Regions from separate parts of the Homo sapiens genome. Here region 2 is linked to region 1. Evidence: promoter capture Hi-C in 16 types of primary human blood cells and fetal thymus (Javierre and others, 2016). All regions are on one chromosome and are shown on one strand. Each heading gives the region's core, a stretch centred on a gene start or on the middle of the fragment in contact. The rest is flanking DNA. Distances are from core to core; before and after follow the strand shown.

What was found. Contacts are between HindIII fragments. The CHiCAGO score rates a contact against its expected background, and 5 or more counts as called.
Region 2: a contact is called between a fragment that was not itself captured here and the fragment with the promoter of BBS12 in region 1, in 1 of 17 cell types (naive CD8 T cells). The highest score is 7.8, in naive CD8 T cells.

Annotation. Positions count from the first base shown.
Region 1 is chr4:122,729,032-122,734,130 of GRCh38, forward strand. BBS12 (Bardet-Biedl syndrome 12) reads left to right here and starts at 3,673. Exons shown (of 2, transcript NM_152618.3): 1 at 3,673-3,853. It also overlaps the pseudogene CETN4P. RefSeq lists a silencer at 3,343-3,562 and an enhancer at 3,923-4,132. The HindIII fragment of the contact is 1,306 bases long and covers 2,927-4,232 here.
Region 2 is chr4:120,058,497-120,063,708 of GRCh38, forward strand. It overlaps MAD2L1 (mitotic arrest deficient 2 like 1), which reads right to left. Exons shown (of 5, transcript NM_002358.4): 3 at 3,479-3,599; 4 at 2,378-2,481; 5 at 1-1,794. The coding sequence ends at 1,622. Among named protein-coding and RNA genes, the nearest start is that of MAD2L1, 5.7 kb to the right of the region's middle. The HindIII fragment of the contact is 5,099 bases long and covers 1-4,390 here.

The DNA of each region.
Region 1 (5,099 bases), core at 2,423-4,922:
AAGATCAGCTTCCCTAGTGGACTTCAGTCTCCCATGACCAGAGGGTCCCTCTTGGCAGCTGACACAGGGCAGGTGGCCTGCAAACACTCCTCTTGTGCTGAAGGACCCCCATCCCCTCCCCCACAGGAGACAGAGCAGTGGGGTTGGTCAGATGCCATATGATGCACACACTTAAGCAGGGCAAAGGACTACACATTGACTCTGAAACAGAGGAAGATATTACTATACGGGGTGGTAAGTTCAGCACAGGCTCTGTGGACTCCTAGTCTCTTCAAAAGAAGTGTTCCAGGCCCAAGGCCCACTCTCAAACAACTGAGTAGGAGTTAAAAGACTGTATGTATGAGATTCCGTTTCCCAACAGTTTGGCTCTTTCACAAGGAAGAAATCACAAGAGTCACAGAATTGAAAATGAGTTAGAAAATACACAGTTATCTTGAAAGTTTTATCCATAGGGAAGCAGCATAATGAAGAATAAGAACTTAAGATTTGGAATCCATGTTTTATTTCTTATCAATGGGCAACTGGGGAATTTTTAAAACTTCTCTGAACTTTAGTTTTCTTGTATGTAAAATGGAGCTAATACAATCAGCTTCCAACTTGTAATATGTTTACTGAGGTTAACACATAAAATCTCGGCCAGGCACGGTGGCTCACCCCTGTAATCCCAGCAGTTTGGGAGGCTGAGGTAGGCAGATCATGAGGTCAGGAGATTGAGACCATCATGGCTAACACAGTGAAACTCCGTCTCTACTAAAAATGCAAAAAATTAGCTAGGCATGGTGGCAGGTACCTGTAGTCCCAGCTACTCGGGAGGCTGAGGCAGGAGAATCTCTTGAGCCCAGGAGGCAGAGGTTGCATTGAGCCGAGATCGCACCACTGCACTCCAGCCTGGGTGACAGAGGGAGATTTTGTCTCAAAAAATATATAAATAAAATTTTTTAAAAATAAAACTCTACACCACCTGTCCTAGCACAGAGGTATTAAGTGCTCACTATAGAGTCAAACTTACAGGGAAATATGGGTGATGTAAGTGCTATTTTGAATTTTCTTTATAACTAAAAGAAGAAAATTAGCAAATAATGTTTCCAGACAGTTCTATTTAATACTTTATGTATTTGAGTAACTGACTAAAAAGCAAATGTTCATCAGGTTTTTTTGGGTTGCACAAAAGGAAAATATAAGTTTTGTTTGCCAAATTCATTTGGATGTGAAGCCAACTTCATCAAACTTTAAAATTCTAAGTCTTTGTGACCTAAGGTTCTCAAAAGAGCAGCTAGAATCAATACTGTTCTTGGATTAATGGCTCAAAGAAGTCATTATGTTTTGTTTCTTGATGCTGTAGATTTAACATCATATTGGTAGAGATGTGTAACTTCTTACATGGATTAGACATCAAGAAGCCAATGTGTACATATAAACTAAAAACTGAAAATGAATACATTCAGATATTAAATTATAAAACTGCATAACAAATACAAATTTGTTAATTTTCCACAAGGACTAAAACAACGCTATTAATAACGAGTAGTCTTTTTCATCACTCTCAAAACATCTTCCTCGTTTATTTCTCCATCTCTATCATGATCAGCTTCATCAAGCATTTCCTGTAAAACAAAATGTAAATATATGAAATACATTTAAAATGACATAAATGAAGTCAAACACATATTCAAAACCAAATTTTATTTTAAATGCATAAGTGCAACTAAAGTTAGAATTATAATCCTAAATTATCACATAAGTTATAATTACATATAAATTATAATTATAAAAATAAGCAAAATCTACCTGAAGTTCATCATGTTAAATTTTCCCCTGGTTTCTTAGCAAACCTCTTGATACCGGTTAGTATTATACTTCCAGTATCATCATCATCAAATAATTTGAAAGTCTTCAATATTTCTTCTTTTTCATCTTTTTTACTCTTTTAAAAAAGAAGCAACTATCCAGTCTTTCATTTATTTATTTTATCAAGCTGGACTTAATTAGATCTTTGGGGTCTAAAGCAGCAATGTGCCAAGTAGCTGTGTTCTGATTTTATTTATTGGTCTTTTAACAATTATGTACTCACACCTGCCCTCAAGGTGCTTAAAGGTAGAGCTTGCTAAGGTGGAGAAGGCACAGGGTGGTCCAGAATGCATCTCTTATTAAACCTCATAATTCAGATCCGTTACCAAAAATGTAAGCTTCAAAATGGAAGGTTGTATCTTTCAATGCTCCTTAGAATAGTGCCTGGCAAAAATAGGCATTCAATATATGTTGCTGAATTAAAGGCTTCCAAATTCTGGCCCCATTCTCTCTATCCTGCAATATAGCCTCATTATTTCCTGACAAAAACCTCTTCTCCACATCATAGTCTTCTCATTACTACCCTGAAAACATATTTAATCTTGCTCTTCCTATCTCCCATCCTTAAAAACCTAGTTCTAATTGCTTCTCTATAAAACTTCTGATTGCTCCAGCCCTAAAATGTAGCAGGTTATTGCTAGTATTTCTTTGAAAAATAAAATCATAACTATATCATTTTTATACTCATAATGGCAAAAAAAAATCTTCAAAACTAATGGTGCCAATTCCTTCTTTATCAACTTCAGCTACCATTTTTTAAATTTCTTCTTTCTTTGGTTCAAATCCTAAGGCCCACACTGCAATCTGAAATAGGAAGAAAAGGAATTATAATATGCCATGATTTCTTTCTAAGCTTTTTAACTCCCTATTAAGAGCTTCTCTCTTTTCTATTATGGACTGAGCATAAACAGAAAATTAGGTCAGCAGGCCTGTGTTTCAGTCCTACTGTGCCATCATGTACATCACTGTTACACCCTGGGCTTTTGCCTACTCATTTATAAAACACAATTAAAATGCTTAACAAGATATCGTTTTGCTAATGCAGGGCAGGCATATGCACTGAAGAGACTTTATATTAAGCTTTCAGAAGACTACTTTTAAAGAAAGCCTTAAAGATTGCCACAAATAATATGGTTTTTAAAATGATTTAGAATTAGAAATAATTTCAGAACCTTCTTTTACATCGATGGTTCCAGACCCATCAATATCAAATAAATTAAAGGCGTCTTTAATTTCTTGCTTTTGGGATTCATTCAGTTCAATTTTTGCTGCTCTTTTCTTCCATTGGTCTGAACTTGTATGGTAGTTAGATGCCTGTAATACACACACATATGGGTGAAAGATAAATTATATAACTGGAATAGTTAGCAGAACCAGAATAATTGATGATAAACTATATTAAAGTACCTATTTCCTACTATAAAATGAATCTCAACAGGAGTAAGGAAGGAGTGCAGTTGCTGCCAGGGGCAGCCTTCCTTGCTCTGGCGGAAAAACTTCGGCCCCGGCCCCAGCAGAAGGTTACAGCTTCACACTCACCAGGTCCCCAGCCGGCAGCCGGCGCTCTCAGCCGGGACCTCCCGGCGTCACCTCCCGCAGCCCCGCCCAACCCAAGTCTTCACAGCTCACTGGCGGTTGCTAAGGCCGCTCTCACCGACCTCTCTCAGCCCCGCCCACCCAGCCTGAGTTATTGACATCCAGTTCATCCAATGGACAGAAAAAAAGGCCTTTAAACCAGCCCTTTCTCTCTACTCCCTACCAATAGCGTGACGTCCCCGCCTTTCGCAGCCCGGCGTTAAGCGGAACTTCTCTCTCCAGCTGTGTCTCTTAGCAACTAAGCCCCCGGCTCCTCCAGAAGCCCCTCTTCGCACATGCGCAAACTGCGGACGGGGAACTGGGCTCCCTAGCCCTGGCGTTTTTGGTGTTGCTGTCCCAGCCAGAATCGCGTCTGGCCGGTGGGAAGCCGGGAACTCCAGCCCCCTGTAGGAGAGGAGAAAGGAGCGAGGTTAGTAGTGAGGTGCTTCCGCTGACTGCTAAGCTAAGTCTTTCCTGAAGACGTGGGAGCCCGTGTGTTTGATTTTTCTGTCCTCTTCGGGCCAGGGAAAGAATGAGAATCTAGGGCCTGGAGGTCCTGGGGTGAATTGGTCCAGCATGTGGCTAGGAGTACTAGAGGAAGAGGGGACTGCCCTTTCTTTTTGCCGCTAGACTTTCCTCATTTTCTACAGTGCCTGGAGCTGGGCCTTCAGCCATTTACCTCCTCCCTGTTTTGGGCAGGGATTCTGGCATGGTAGACACCAGAATTCTGTATAGCAGTGGCATGGGGTAACAGTGTCGTTGGAGGGACGTGGGTATTGGGATAAGCATGGGTCTTGGGATGTATTTAAAGCTTCACTACATACATAGATAAACGTTTTTACATGTTTCGTGTAGCATTTGTTTACGAGGTAGGACTTTGGCCCCACCCATAATTACTATCGGACCCCGCCCTCCAACCCCAACACACACACACACACACACACACACACACACACACACACACACACACATCCAGCCATTTCCTTGGCCCAGTCCTAAGATTTGGCCAGTTGTCAACGATATCAACTTGATCTGCACTTCAGAGTCAGACACAGGTAGTCTGATTATCCAGTTGATTCAGTAACGGCCTAGATTTAGATACTTGTGAAACTTTTGTAAACCAACTCAATCTCTTGTCCAGAGGGCCAGATTTACTGCTTCTGCCCGTTCTGAATTTGGCCAGGAATCAGCTTAAAGGACAGGGGAGAAAGACTGAGGTAGGATGGACCACTGACTTCCTGGTGGGAATGAAGGAATGAGAGAATCTTAAAACTTCTAACCTTTAATTGCTCACACATGCGGACCCCTTTTATGCCTCCTACAATGTCTTCTCTAGAGGAAATATTTTCTAAAAATTATACTGGATTCTTCAAAAATGGATTCAGGAAGAATACTAACTTTAGTCTTTTTTTTTTTTTTTTTTTTTTTGTCTCACTTATCTTCCTGAAGGCAGGAGAGGAAAACAAGTGCAAAGTGCATTCTTGAAGCACTCTGTCAAATCACTTTTCATGCTTCATTGAGTAGAAACATGGCACATTTTCCAAAGCCATCAGCCTGTCTTGTTCATATTATATCCCAGACAGACACGCAAGTATTGTAATCATTGATAAAAATCTCATTAGGCTTCTGGAAAATAGGTAAGTTTATCCTCATATTGCAGGTGATTTTTCCATATA
Region 2 (5,212 bases), core at 591-3,090, 2.7 Mb before region 1:
GCACGTGCCTGTAATCCCAGCTACTCAGGAGGCTGAGACGGAAGAATGGCTGGAATCCGGGAGGCAGAGGCTGTAGTGAGCTGAGCTGCGTCACTGTACTCCAGCCTGGGCGACAGAATAAGACTCCATCTTGGGGGGGAAAAGTGATTTCGCAGAATTTAGTCTGACTTCTCAAATAGTTAAAATACAAATGAAGCATTTAATTGCCACTTTTCTTGAAATCATCTAGGTTGGTAACACCAGTGGTCCACTTATTCCATAAAGATATGAAGAGTCTACAAATTTGTCACTGAGAACCCAGAAACTGCCACTGATCCACAGTATTTGCTCAATATGTAATTTCTGAATGAACAGATTCAGACTATGTGCAATTACTTAAAAATAGTGAAGGTTAAATAAGTTAATACACATAAAGAACTTAGTGTCTAATAATAAACATTAATAAACTGAATTTTTACAAAATGAGGTCAGATTTAGATTAGAGATTAGAGAAGACTTTACAAATCTGCCTTAAACTGACCTTGGAAAAACAGGTGAGAACTGGATAGAAAGCATGTACCAGATGAGGGTATTAATGAAAGCACAGGAATAAGCATAGTATTTAAGTATATAAGGAAAAGTAGGCTGACAATAAGGCTAAGAGTATAGTAAAGTACTAAAATCAACACTTGTTCAACTGGAATTGTTGGACTAATTCCAAAGGACATTTATCTTTTCACAATGATGAAGTAATAGCCTTAAGTCTATTGCTATGAGATGAACAGGATGTGATCAAAGTTTATCCATTAGATTGAAGACACCTCAAGACTCACTCAACTTTGGACCCTTAAGTTCTATAACTTCGTAGGAACAAGAATTCATTAGCTATGCTGAATCAATTCTAATTACCATTTAACTATATCAACACCAAACCAGTATCAAAATGTTTTAAGACAAATTTAAAACAAACTTAACTTTATTTCCTCACTTTCACTTAAAACTTGATTTTATAAAACACATGAAAAAACATTTTTAAGAGTTCTGTATCACAGAACATTAAACAGTACAAATATCCATTGCTTCATAGGTTCAAGTTACATAAATTAAAGTCAAATAATTGGAAACTGATTCAATAGGGAAAACTATACATGAAATGAAGGTCAAAAGGAGCTATACAGCAATATTTCATTGTTTATAGATTATGAGTTACTTTCAGGACCTTAACAAAGATTCTGAATATTTAGACTTCCTTTGTTGTATTTTATACTTAAATATCTCCCTACCTATACTGAGTCAAACTACTTGACCAAAACATCTGATTTAGGAAAGCATCTAGCTTTATAGCACAAGTTTTTCCATCTACAGTTACTATCTTCAAAGGAATATACATCACAATGTTGACAAAAAAACCTCCTGGTTCCTTTTGAACAATGTGCAATAAATTCATGATGTTAACTCCATGGTAAGTCAAATAGGTACCAAAAAAATAAAAGGAACAATTACACACAGTTCAGTAAGTATCATTTTGGTTTTCTCCATGTAAAAATTAACCAATGAAATAAAACATATCAACTATAGATGACTTGATTTCAGGAAAACCACATTTCAAAATTACAATTACATTATTTTCCTCATGTCATCCTCAGTCATTGACAGGAATTTTGTAGGCCACCATGCTATTTACTTTGTGGATTGTAGTAGTAAATGAACGAAGGCGGACTTCCTCAGAATTGGTAATAAACTGTGGTCCCGACTCTTCCCATTTTTCAGGTACAACCAAATCTTTGTCTGTATAAATCAGCAGATCAAATGAACCTAAATTGGGGATAAGATCATTGAAGTATATTATTTTCTAAAAGTAAAACTAATCTTGCTGCCTCTCTTCTATTTTGAACCACTCACTGCTGGAAAAGGTCATTTGGCTTGGTCTCCAATCACTAGTTAATTTATTTTGCTCAATGAACATTTATTTCAGTAAAGAAAATATTGTATCTAACTTCCGTGCAATTTAGTGATTGTGTTCAAGTAACCCTTATCTTATTTAATAATGGTCCCAAAGCACAAGAATAGTGATGCCAGCATATTGTTATAATTGTTCCAGTTTATTATTAACTCTTACTATGCTTAATTTACATATTAAATTTTATCATAGGTATGTATGCATAAGAAAAAAACATTATATAGGGTTCATACTATCCATGGTTTCAGGTATTCACTGTGGGTCTCCCTGTGGAAAGGGAGACTACGATACATTACTTTTGCATGATAATGTTTTTCCTTCAATTTATATTACATAAATCTGATAAATAAGACAAAATTTAATAAAGGGGTGATTACGGCAGTAGCTTAGTCTTTTTGCCAATCAATTTAATTCAACAAGAAGTTGTATAATACTTACAAGAAACTTCCAACAGTGGCAGAAATGTCACCGTAGCTGTGATCTGTCTGATCACTGAACGGATTTCATCCTGGATAGCTTTCTGAGACTTTTCTCTGGGTGCACTGTCAAAAAAAAATCAAATCAATTAATTCATTTCAGGTCTTAACAAATTATTTCAAACATAGTGGTTAGATTATTTATCTGATTAAATGCTCTCAACATCAAATAAGCAGGGCTTATTTGAGAAAGGAGGTTTGTAAAAAATGTGAGTGAAAGTATCCTTCAGACCTACAACCTAGTAGGCACAACATTCATCCTTATTACTTCATTTATCCTGCCAGTCATCTTTTAGAGCTGGTCTTAGTGTCAGGTCATTTAGTATCAGATGACTAGAAAATTTGCCAATCACTTCAAGTTCAGGAAACTTCAGCATCTCTTGAAATAAAAATAAGTGATATCTAAAATATGTATTGGTATAATCATTTCAGCATTTTTAGTAATGCCTAAATGTCTAATTTCCTATTTTCTCAAATAAAACATTAAATTGTATATCAAATTATTTTATAAGCTAAAAATTTCCTAAAATACACCAAAGCCTTCAGAAGCAAACTACATTTCACTATAAGAAATGGTTCTCAGTTTATAGAAGAGCATGCCTAGGACAATGCATTTCTCTTCCAGGGAGTCTGGAACCTTCAGAAATTTATGAAGTGTCTTAGGAAGTAGATGGCATTAAAGGAAGTACAGCAGAGCTACATCTTAAATTGTGTGAGTCTAATATCATTCCTTATAGTTAAAAATATCTTAGAACAATTATTAAATGGTTCATCTAGTATATCATGTGTAGTTTTGTATATATCACCATAAATACTGTTTGAAAACTACTGATTTAGACTAAAGGCAATTATGTTAAAATTATATTATATATACAAATCAATGATATGCTAAACTGAGCACAATTCTTTTCCATAGGTGACTGAGGATATCTTAGAAAATATAAATTAGAAACAAACTATATTTTATATAAAACTAGTTCAATACAATTAGAACTCAATTAGTAATAAAAACAAGTTTTGAAAAAAAATATATCAAAGTAGAAATAATGTAATTCCTATTTACCTGTCATCTTTTGCAGTCTTGTCACACTCAATATCAAACTGCCATCTTTCCAGGACCTCACCACTTTCAATATTTGAGATAACTACAACCAGTTTCTGAACTGAACACTTGTATAACCAATCTGCAACATATAAAAAGGAAGGCATCTTTCTTGGTCCACTGCATCATAAAGTAGCTCTCTTCTCGGGTCCCACTCCCTATCCTCAGCAAATTCCTACCACTGCTATCTGGGACCTCCTCCTATGTGCAAGAAAATTTGCACCATCAATAATCTAACTTCTGTTTTCAAATTCTCAGTATCTGTATCAGGTACAGTAATTGGTGCTGAGGACAGAATACTGAACATGTGGTAGTTTCATCCTAATCCAACATAAAAGCATAGGAGATGGGCATTAATCTACTCATCACACCAATAAATGAGAAATTATCATTGTAATGGCTGCTATGAAAGAAAGATGTAAGATGCAATGAGAGCATAAAAAAAGGAAAATTTGAGCCACTCAGGGAGGTCAGAAAAGGTCTGAGTTTAGCTCTAGGGATAAACAGCATTAAATATGCAAAAGGATACGAAAGAAGATACAGGCCTCAAATACTGCCAAGGGAAGAGCATATAGAGGGCTGGAAGCAGCCCACTACAAGTGCAATCAAGAAACAAACAAACAAAATAAAACAAAGTAATCCTTGCAAGATTAACAGGAGCCAGACCATGCAAAGCCTGGTGGATCAAATTAAAAAAATATATACTTCAAGACCAGGGAAGTCATTACTGTGTGTGAACAGGATGTAAAGCAATTAGACTTGTATTTCAAAACTATCATTCTAGCCGTGATACGGAAAGTGGACTGGAGATGTTAAAGAGGGGATCTAGAGACACTAGTTAGTCAATCAGTAATTCAAGCAAGAGTTAATGAAAGCTTGTAGGAGGATAAACTGGTAGATATGGAGCAATAGGTAGATTTAAGAGATTTCATGGTTAAAACGTATTGGGTTTAGTCACGATAGTAAGGAAGAAGCATGATTCAGGGACAGCTTCCAAGTTTCTTTTATTTCTGGCTGGACGGTTTAGTCATTCATTGAGAGAAAAAAAGAGAATTAAAGAGTATCAGTCTTGGAGATGATCCTAAATTTAGTTTTTAGTATACTTGAGTGTACATTGTCTCTGGGATAGCTACATAAAGATATAGCTGCTGGATATATGAGTCTGGAGAAAGAGGCTTGGGATAGATGTAAGTTTGTGAGCTGACTACACAGAGGTTGTTAGTGAAGCTATACACAGGTCAGAGATCACCTATAGAGAAATTATAAACACAGAACGGGGGCTCAGATTGAGCCTTGAAGTAATCTTGGAAATTGAAACAGCATATTCAGGAGTCAGCGAAGTTTTTGTAAAGAAACAGAGTAATTACTAAATATTTTAGGCTTATTGGCCACCAAGATCTCTGTTGCTTATTTTTAAACAAACCTGTAAGTGTAAAAACACTCTTAGCTTGTGGGCAGTGCAAAAACAGGCCACTTGTTGGATGTGGCCTGTGGGCCTTGTGATCCCTGGCATTTATCAACAACTTTTTATTAGTTTCACTCTGAAAAGGAGACTGGGTGGTAATTTGCTCTTCCTTTAAAACTGGAGAGATGAAACCAATGGGGATAATTAAAATCAAAACACAGAAGCAGAAAATATAAGAGAGAACAGGATAAAGACCCTGAAAAAGGCTAGAGGAAATTACATTCAAAACA